3 separate regions of the Homo sapiens genome follow, and regions 1 and 3 are each linked to region 2. Evidence: promoter capture Hi-C in 16 types of primary human blood cells and fetal thymus (Javierre and others, 2016). All regions are on one chromosome and are shown on one strand. The core of a region is centred on a gene start or on the middle of the fragment in contact, and the rest is flanking DNA. Distances in the headings are between cores, read along the strand shown.

Region 1 (2,700 bases), core at 80-2,579, 100 kb before region 2:
TGATGAGATAGGTAACCCTCGTTCTGGTTCAGTACTAGTTTCTAAGATAAAAAAGAGAAATATATATTTTTTTTCTCAAAGGGGGCAAAAGAGAATTCTTAAATGAATACTTCTAATAGTGAAATATGTTTAAGTTTAAAAAGAATGTTAAGGGTGGGTGCGGTGGCTCACACCTGTAATTCCAGCACTTTGGGAGGCCGAGGCGGGCGTATCATAAGGTCAGGAGATTGAGACCATCCTGGCTAACATAGTGAAACCCCGTCTCTACTAAAAATACAAAGAATTAATCAGGTGTGGTGGCGGGCACCTGTAGTCCCAACTACTAGAGAGGCTGAGACAGGAGAATGGTGTGAACCCAGGAGGTGGAGCTTGCAGTGAGCTGAGATCGCACCACTGCACTCCAGCCTGGGCGACAGAGCGAGACTCCATCTCAAGAAAAAAAAGAAAAAAAAAAAAAGAATGTTAAAATTATTCCTGTTCTTTCTATCACTGCCATCCTGTATGCGCCCATGAATGCATCTTTGACTTTACTGATTATGAAAAGTAACAAATCAGCCAGGTACGGTGGCTCACACCTGTAATCTCAGCACTTTGGGAGGCTAAGGTAGGAGGGTCACTTGAGCTCAGGAGTTGGAGACCAGCCTGGGCAACATAGCAAGAGCTTGTCTCTACTAAAATTCAAAAATACAGCCAGCTGTGGTAGCTACTTGCAGGGGCTGAGGCGAGAGGATCACTTGAGCCCAGAAAGTCAGGGCTGCAGCAAACCCTTTTTGGCCACTGCACTCCAGCCCAGGCGACAGAGTGAGACCTTGTCTCAAAAAAGGAAAAAAAAGCCCACAAATCATTATGTGGAAGATTTATTTAATAATACAGACATATTCGTAGGTAAAAATTAAGTCAAGTCCTTTTATAATGTCAAGAAATAATCATAGCTAAAAGTTTGGGGTATGGCCTTCATACTTGCCAATATATGTATAAACCTGTGTTTTAAATATAAAGGCTATCATTCAACATGCACATTTTTCTACATCAGTACATAAAGTTCTGCCTCATCTTTTATGACTACTTAAAATTCATTATGTAGATGTACCATGATTTATTTAATCAACTTTCTGATGATGTACATTTAGGTTGTTTCTAATTTTTTTCTATTATATAAAGTGGTGCAGTGGACATTTTATATATATATCATTACTTGACCAATTATTTCCTTGGGATACATTTCCAGGAATAAAACTATTGAGGCAAAAATATACAGTTTTTCAATTACAAATTTTTATTTATAGCTTTTATGAAATTGAACTACCAGTAGCTTGCACCAATTTATATTCCTGTCAGCAATGAAGTTGCCACACTTTTGCCACACTTCCTTAGTATTTCTAATTTAAAAAACATTTCTACAAACCTGAAAAGGAAAAATATTTTATTTATATATACATTTCTTTGGTTATTAATGAATTTGAACATCTTATTGTGACATTAGAGCAGTGCCATTTAAAAGGACCTAATGACTTTTGATTTGCATCTTTTTCCTTGGGATTGTGGTAGTATTCCCCATACGAAAATTTGCAATTTGAAGTTATGAAGTCAAAAGAATAATTTAGATTATGGTTATAGAACCTCTTTCCTTAAATGTGTGTGTTCATCCACATACTTTCTTGAAACTGTGGGAGAGAATGATCCCTTTTCTTTCTATTTTTGTAAACAAATGGGCCACGGAGAGACTGATCCTTAACAGTTTCTAGTAAGCAAGTGTTGGTAAATAAGTGCTCTGTATTAACTCACTGAAAATGAGTATAAAATATTTATTTTCCTCATTTAATACAAGTGCCATCTAAGTATTTTTCAACTTTTTTTTTATTATTGCCTCCCAAGGAGCTTTCTGCCGTGATATTTTGATACCATAGATACACTGTATATCTGTTGCATACAGTAGCCCTTTGTAGGGCCACAAGCATTAAAATAGCAAGATTTTGTTGGCCCTTCAGAGAACCAGTTTTTGCCCTCTTTGGGGCCATGCTGCCCTCATTGAGAATGCATGTGTGTATTGATATTTAGAGGAGGAGAGGGAAACAGCTTTGCTATGCATGAATAGTTACTTGGGTTTCATAGGACTCAGAAGAGGTTAGTGTTTCTGTTGCTTTGTCAGATTGTCCAGAAGGGAACATAAGGATTAAGTTGCCACAATTACTCCACCAGTCTTATCACCCAACTCTAAACATGGTATCTTGGAGTCCCTAAGTTACCTAGAATATACTAGGTATAGTAATACCATTTTTGAGAACGTTGATATGCCAAGGGTATAGTGACATTATTGTAGTTGAAGGCATTTTGTTGAATTTAGGGAACAGTAGCTCTAATGCATTAGGAGTAATTGTAAATGTTCAAACCTTTATCCTTGTGGTTCTCAAACAGTGATGATTCTGCTTCCAGGGGACATTTGCAATTTCTGGGAGCATTTTTGGTGGCCACAACTGGGTGTATGAGTGTTCCTAGTGGAACACTCATCTAGAGGGTGGAGTCCTAGGATGCTGCTAAACGTCCTGCAGTGCAAAGGACCAAGTCCTTTGCAAAGAATTATCTAGTCCAAAATATCAGCACTGCTGAGATTGAGAAACCCTGCTCTGTCTTAGTGATTGTACTTCTTGGAATCTAGCTTTAGAAAGTAATCCAAGTAATGTTGCTAGGATTTTGATGTAT
Region 2 (2,823 bases), core at 73-2,572:
GCCCAAGTTGGGGAGAGATAGTTCTTGGGGACACAGAGGAATGCAGCCCACGGCGCCATCAATACATGTGCACTGATGTTTACAGTTGGGCTGGAAACTTTCCCCGTTTTGGTAGATTCTGGAGTTATATTCACAGGGTCTGCCCTCTGACTGAGCTGCAAAGATCACCAAAAGAGAAAGGTAGAAGGGGATAAAGTTAAGATTCCAAACCACCGCCTGAAACTCATACATATTTTCTGCTGTTAAATTCAATTTATGGTAAAGTTCCCTACAATTCCCCGGAGACTCCAGACCAGAACAATAAGTTAGTCAGGAATCACTTTTCCGTATGCGCTTTCGTTGGGCCCAGACACACTGAATTGCATTCCAGACTGCTGAAATCATGTGCCTTTCTGCCAAGCTACCAACAACAAAGCATCACCATACATGGTCTCAGAATTACTAAACTTCTGGACTATGGGGACTAGTATTTTTTTTAAAGGGGCCAAACCACAAGCATCTTACCTCTGCAGATCCCCTTCAGAGCGGTGGAGCTGGCGCCGAAGTTGCATTCCAGCCCCTTGGTGTGGTCGCAGGGCTGCGTTTTGCTGCAGTCCTCGTTGAGCTGCTTGGCGCAGACCTTACAGCAGCCGCAGCCGTCCCGGACCAGCCCGACTCCCGGCGCGCACTTGGGCGCCTCCAGGGGGCAGTGGCAGGCAGCGGGGCAGGTGGAGAGCGCCTGGAAGGGGGAGAAGATACGCGTGAGACTCGGCGCGGTGCGCAGGAGGGGCGCCGCGGCTGCCGCAGTGAGGGACGGGGGTCTCCGACCCTATCGACGGGGAGCCTCTGATCTCGTCCAGCCCGGCCACCTCGGAAGGCTGCTCCCACCAAGAGGTCCCGACACGTCTTCGGGGGGAGGGGGAGAGTGCTTAAAGAAACGGCTACCCGCAAACGATCGCGAACTTTTTAACTTTTCCTGCCGTGGGCAATCTGGGACCAGGGGAAGGGGCTGGAGAGCGGACGGGGAATAGGTGGCAAAAGGAGAGTCCAACTCACCAGCCTGGTCAAGTGGAGAAGGGTGACGACTAAGGCGAGCGCCCTGGCGATGCGGGAGCTCATTGTGGCGCGCAGGAGTAGCCCGGGGCGAGCGCGGCGACGAAGACGCCAACAAGCTGGTGTGCAGCGGACAGGCCGTGCGCAGCGGGGTCGGGGTGGCGGCGCGGTGGGCCCGGTGGGCAGGGAGGCGAGGGCTGGGCGGCGGGCGGGCGTCTTTCGCTCGAGGTCCCGGCGGAGAAGGCGCGGAGGGCGCGGGCGCTGCTCGGGGGCGCTCTCGCTCGCGGTCTGCCCAGGCGCCCCGGAGCCCGCCTTTTATACGGGCCGGCGGAGGCGCCGCGTGTTGCAGTGACGTCGGCTCTGTCTGCGCGTTCCAGAATTCTCAAACATCTCAGGAATGCTGGTTGGCGCGGGCTGCTGCCAAGCGCCTCCCCTGGCTCCATTGCACCTTTGTGTGTGTGTGTGTGTGTGTGTGTGTGTGTGTGTGTGTGTGTGTGTGTGTGTGTCTGTGTGTGTGTCTGTCTCCCAGACCCGTCAAGAAAACAGTTCGGGGGGTGTGTGTGTGTGTGTGTGTGTGTGTGTGTGTGTCCCAGACCCGTCAAGAAAACAGTTCGTTTTTTCCACCTTAAATTACGACTTATGTTGGGAAGGGTTCTTTGGGGCGTGATGGTGGTGATGGTAGTTGGAGGGTCGTGAGGGGCGAGGGGGGCCAGTTCAGAACTTTGCCTGGACTGGGTGGGTGGGAGGACCTGAGAGGGAGGAACAAAAGTCGTTTTGTTTGGTGATGCGAGTTGACCGGGCAGCCACTGAAGCCCTCACCCGGGAAGGCAGTGAGCTGTTTGCTTTTTTACAGCGAAGGTGAGAGGCAAGTTATCTGTTGAAAGAGTAGAACGGGGAAGAGGAGTGTGTCTCTGAGTCAGGAATATTTGTGGACTTCAAAGAGGCGTGTTCGGAACAAGTCCCAAAGCTTTGGCATGATGTTTATTAGCAAAGTTCAGTGAATTGCAAATTAATACCCACAGTGGCATTTATGAATGAAAAGGCGGGGGGGGGGTGGGGCGGGGGGAAACTTGCCCATCGTCTGGCAAATTCCCAGGCAGAGGTCTCCCCCACTCCTCCAGCCCTTCCCTCTTTTGGGTATGTTGTACTTGTTTGTTTTTGGAGGTTCCCACTTTAGTTCCAGCCCACTGCCTGGGTTGGAAGTCCGAGAGGAAACGAACGCGGGGAGTTCTCCGGGAGGCTGACTTATACTTCCTCACGGATGCAGGAGACGGGGTAAGCCCTTCCCGCCTCCCTCCGCGGGCAGGAGGCTATGCTAACCAAGCAGCCAGCCAGAAGTGCAGGAGACCACCGTGGAGTGGCCTGAAATCATCACCTGCAAAGACCGCAAGGCCAAACCAGATTCCAGGACCATTGTGCCCTATGAATCTCTGGGAAAAGCAGACTCCTTCAAGCTGGACATTTTGTGGGGTTTTTAACTCCTTTCCTAGGGACCACTGGAAGCCTCCCATTTTAAATGAATTGCAATGCCCTTCTCTCCAAGTACAGAAAAGAGATTTAGGATGTAATATTTTGCAGTAAAAATGTCAGCAGATTTTAAGATCCCGTTCTACTTGCAACACACTCAGTAGAAGACCCCACCACAAGACAATTTACTTGAACATCACCAATACCATTAGTGTGATTGATAAACTTTCCCTGCAAGTTTCAAAAACTTTTTGCATAATTTTAATAAAAATTATCATGTAAGACTCATATGCTCTAGGATAACTACTTATCCTTTTTAATGTT
Region 3 (2,830 bases), core at 172-2,671, 120 kb before region 2:
CTATTCACTTAACAAAAAACTTGCGTTTATATTTTGCCTCTTATTTGAGTGATCTTTCTTCTTCCTTGACTTAATAAAAATCTGGTATTACTTCCTTCATAACTCTGGAATTGCCCAGTTTAGCTTAATCAACCCAGGTGGTCAATGTAATAACACATGTCAGAGCCAGAATGTTCTCATATCCCATTTTGTGCTTCCCACAACAGTGGTTACTTTAAGCTAGGCCTTGTACTAGGCAATGCCTTGGCTCTTCCCTTGAGTGAGCTGTCTAGTAATAAAATCAGTGATATATATATACAGCTAACTGGTAAAACCATCGGTAAAAGAAATCAAGAATTGTGTAGGTAGCCCCCGTGATTGCCAAATGACCTGTGTTTTTGTTTGTTTAATCTCCATTAAATTCTTCTTTGGCTCACAGAACATATGGTTAGAAACACAAGCTCTGGAATTAGACAGACCAGGGTTTGAATACAGGTTCTATCTCTCTGGGATAGCTGTATGATGTTGGGATCTCACTAATTTTTATTGCTAAAATGGAGATGATAGTACCTATTCTCATAGTATCATGGTGAAGATTACATGAGATTACTGCTTAGAGCTGTTGTAACACTTAGGTTCTCAGTAAATCTTAACTATTATTGAACATTGTTTTACTCACTTTTTAAATTTAAGGAATTTAAAAATTAATTTGTCTGTTTGGTTTTTGTTGTTAGATGTACTTTATGAAAAATCGTGCCCGGAGGCAAGGTATTAACTTAAAACTTCTACCCAATGGATTCACCAAGAGGAAGGAGAATTCAACCTTTTTTGATAAGAAGTAAGTTTCTAACTTTTTAGTATATCAGGTATTCTGATTTGATCAGGATCATTCTTTAAGGTTTGGTTGCTATAGAGCATTGCTACCCCAAGTGTGGTTCTGTAAACTGTTTGTTATTGGTCCATGACAAGATAACTGTAGTAATTGTATGTCATGTAACTCTAATAAAAATTTGGGTTTGCAGTGTGTGCGTGTGTGTGTGTGTGTGTGTGTGTCTTCATATCATTTGAGAAGCTTCTCAAACATTAATGTGCATACCAGTCACCTAGGCATCTTGTTAAGTATGCTTGTTGTGATTTTTCAGTAGGCCTGGGTTGGAGTTTGATATTGGGCATTTCTAACAAGCTCCTCAATGATGCTCATTGTTTGAGAAACATATTTTGAGTAGCAGCGCCCTGGAACACTCTCATACATTAGAAATAAACTGTTTCTTTGAGAACTAAGATACCAAGAAAGTATTTCAGGGGCTTCCAGGACAAAACGAGTAAAAACAGGACGCCTGTACTGTTTTAATCAAGGCAGCTCTGCTTTTATTTTCTTTCTCCACTGGGTTTCCAAATAAGATTTCAATTAAAAGCTGTCAATGTAGAAGAAGGGGACTTTGAACTCTTGAGTACAGATAATATAACAGAGATTAGTTTGCTGCTGTCTGAAAATGTTGGGTTGAAAAGGCCCCAAGAGTACAGAAGAGAACAGGATCCCAAAGTTCTTTAAGTAGCCAACTAAATTATCAGATAATACCTTTCAGAAGTCAAGATTTTGGATTTAGAATTTTTAAAAACTTGAGGGAGTCCCTCCCTTTTCAGCCTCTTAGTAACTGTGGGGCCTTGAACAAATCAACTTCCTTTCTCTGGGCCCCAGTTGTATGATGTGGGGAGTTGACCCGGGTAAACTACGGAGCCTTTCCAGTTGTACTCTTCCAAAAATTGAAAAGACAAAGCCATCAGAATTATCATTATTCTAGTGAAGCTTCTATCTTTTCAAAGCTGTTATCATAATTAGAAGATGACGTTTTCCATTTATTTTATATAAGACATAAACATTTGTAAAAATGGTTTTTCGTTTTTCCTGGTTGTCTTCGAAAAGTAAAGTAATGCTGAAGCAGGTGGATCCCTTGAGGCCAGGAGTTTGAGACCAGCCTGGGCAACATGGTGAAACCTCGTCTCTACTAAAAATACAAAAATTAGCCAGGTGCAGTGGCACCCACCTGTGATCCCAGCTACTCAGGAGGCTGAAGTGGGAGCATCCCTTGAGCACAGGAGGCGGAGGTTGCAGTGAGCCAAGATTGCACCACTGCACTCCAGTCTGGGTGACAGAATGAGACCCTGTCTCAAAAAAAAAGTAAAGTAATGTCTTGCATTTATCAAATGTGAGATGATTCTTTTGTGCGTTTTGAAACTGGCATATTTAGAAATTGACATAATTTGAAGTTTATGGTAACTGGTTAGAAGTTTATGGTAACTGGTTAGTGCTTTCTCAAATACAAAATGTGTTCCTGTTTTATGAAAGAAACTATTCAGAATGATTGTAATCAGAGATTAGTTCTCAGTAATGAAAAGCAGATGGCCTCAAGTATAACATTTTTGTGTCTGTAGGTACATGAATGTATGCGGGAAGTTTTTACCGAGAATATTACACTCAGTATATTTTCCAGGTTTAATATATTTTTGGTTGTTTTGAAACTCCCCGGGTCTCTGAAATGGCAAATCAGATTCTTCTTGCATAAGTCTTTTGCTCATAAATTTATAGAGATTTGTGATCAGTTTTCTTACATTTTTAGTGTTTCCCAGGAGGAGATTAGCAACATAGTATGTACTAATAGGCTTTAGAATCCATTTCTTAGTCTTTTACCGTCTGCAAAATGGAGCTCATGATAGCTACCTTGTAGAGTTGTGGCCTTTTAGTGTATTAATTCACATAGGCAGTAACTGGCATGTGGGAAGGAATCAGTTTATAGTAGCTATTGTAAAAATAATACATCTGTATCATTAAAAAGTTTAAAGGAAAAATATC

The links. Contacts are between HindIII fragments. The CHiCAGO score rates a contact against its expected background, and 5 or more counts as called.
Region 1: a contact is called between a fragment that was not itself captured here and the fragment with the promoter of CCN1 in region 2, in 1 of 17 cell types (endothelial precursors). The highest score is 7.6, in endothelial precursors.
Region 3: a contact is called between a fragment that was not itself captured here and the fragment with the promoter of CCN1 in region 2, in 1 of 17 cell types (endothelial precursors). The highest score is 5.1, in endothelial precursors.

Annotation. Positions count from the first base shown.
Region 1 is chr1:85,683,712-85,686,411 of GRCh38, reverse strand. The region is part of intron 5 of ZNHIT6 (zinc finger HIT-type containing 6); the gene reads left to right. Among named protein-coding and RNA genes, the nearest start is that of ZNHIT6, 23 kb to the left of the region's middle. The HindIII fragment of the contact is 2,868 bases long and covers 1-2,700 here.
Region 2 is chr1:85,579,260-85,582,082 of GRCh38, reverse strand. CCN1 (cellular communication network factor 1) reads right to left here and starts at 1,322. Exons shown (of 5, transcript NM_001554.5): 1 at 1,036-1,322; 2 at 505-718; 3 at 1-155. The coding sequence starts at 1,098. RefSeq lists enhancers at 1-185, 1,452-1,501, 1,232-1,754 and silencers at 602-651, 662-711, 722-781, 1,212-1,341. The HindIII fragment of the contact is 3,344 bases long and covers 1-2,001 here.
Region 3 is chr1:85,700,144-85,702,973 of GRCh38, reverse strand. ZNHIT6 (zinc finger HIT-type containing 6) reads left to right here. Exons shown (of 10, transcript NM_017953.4): 5 at 714-817. Among named protein-coding and RNA genes, the nearest start is that of ZNHIT6, 6.9 kb to the left of the region's middle. The HindIII fragment of the contact is 735 bases long and covers 1,054-1,788 here.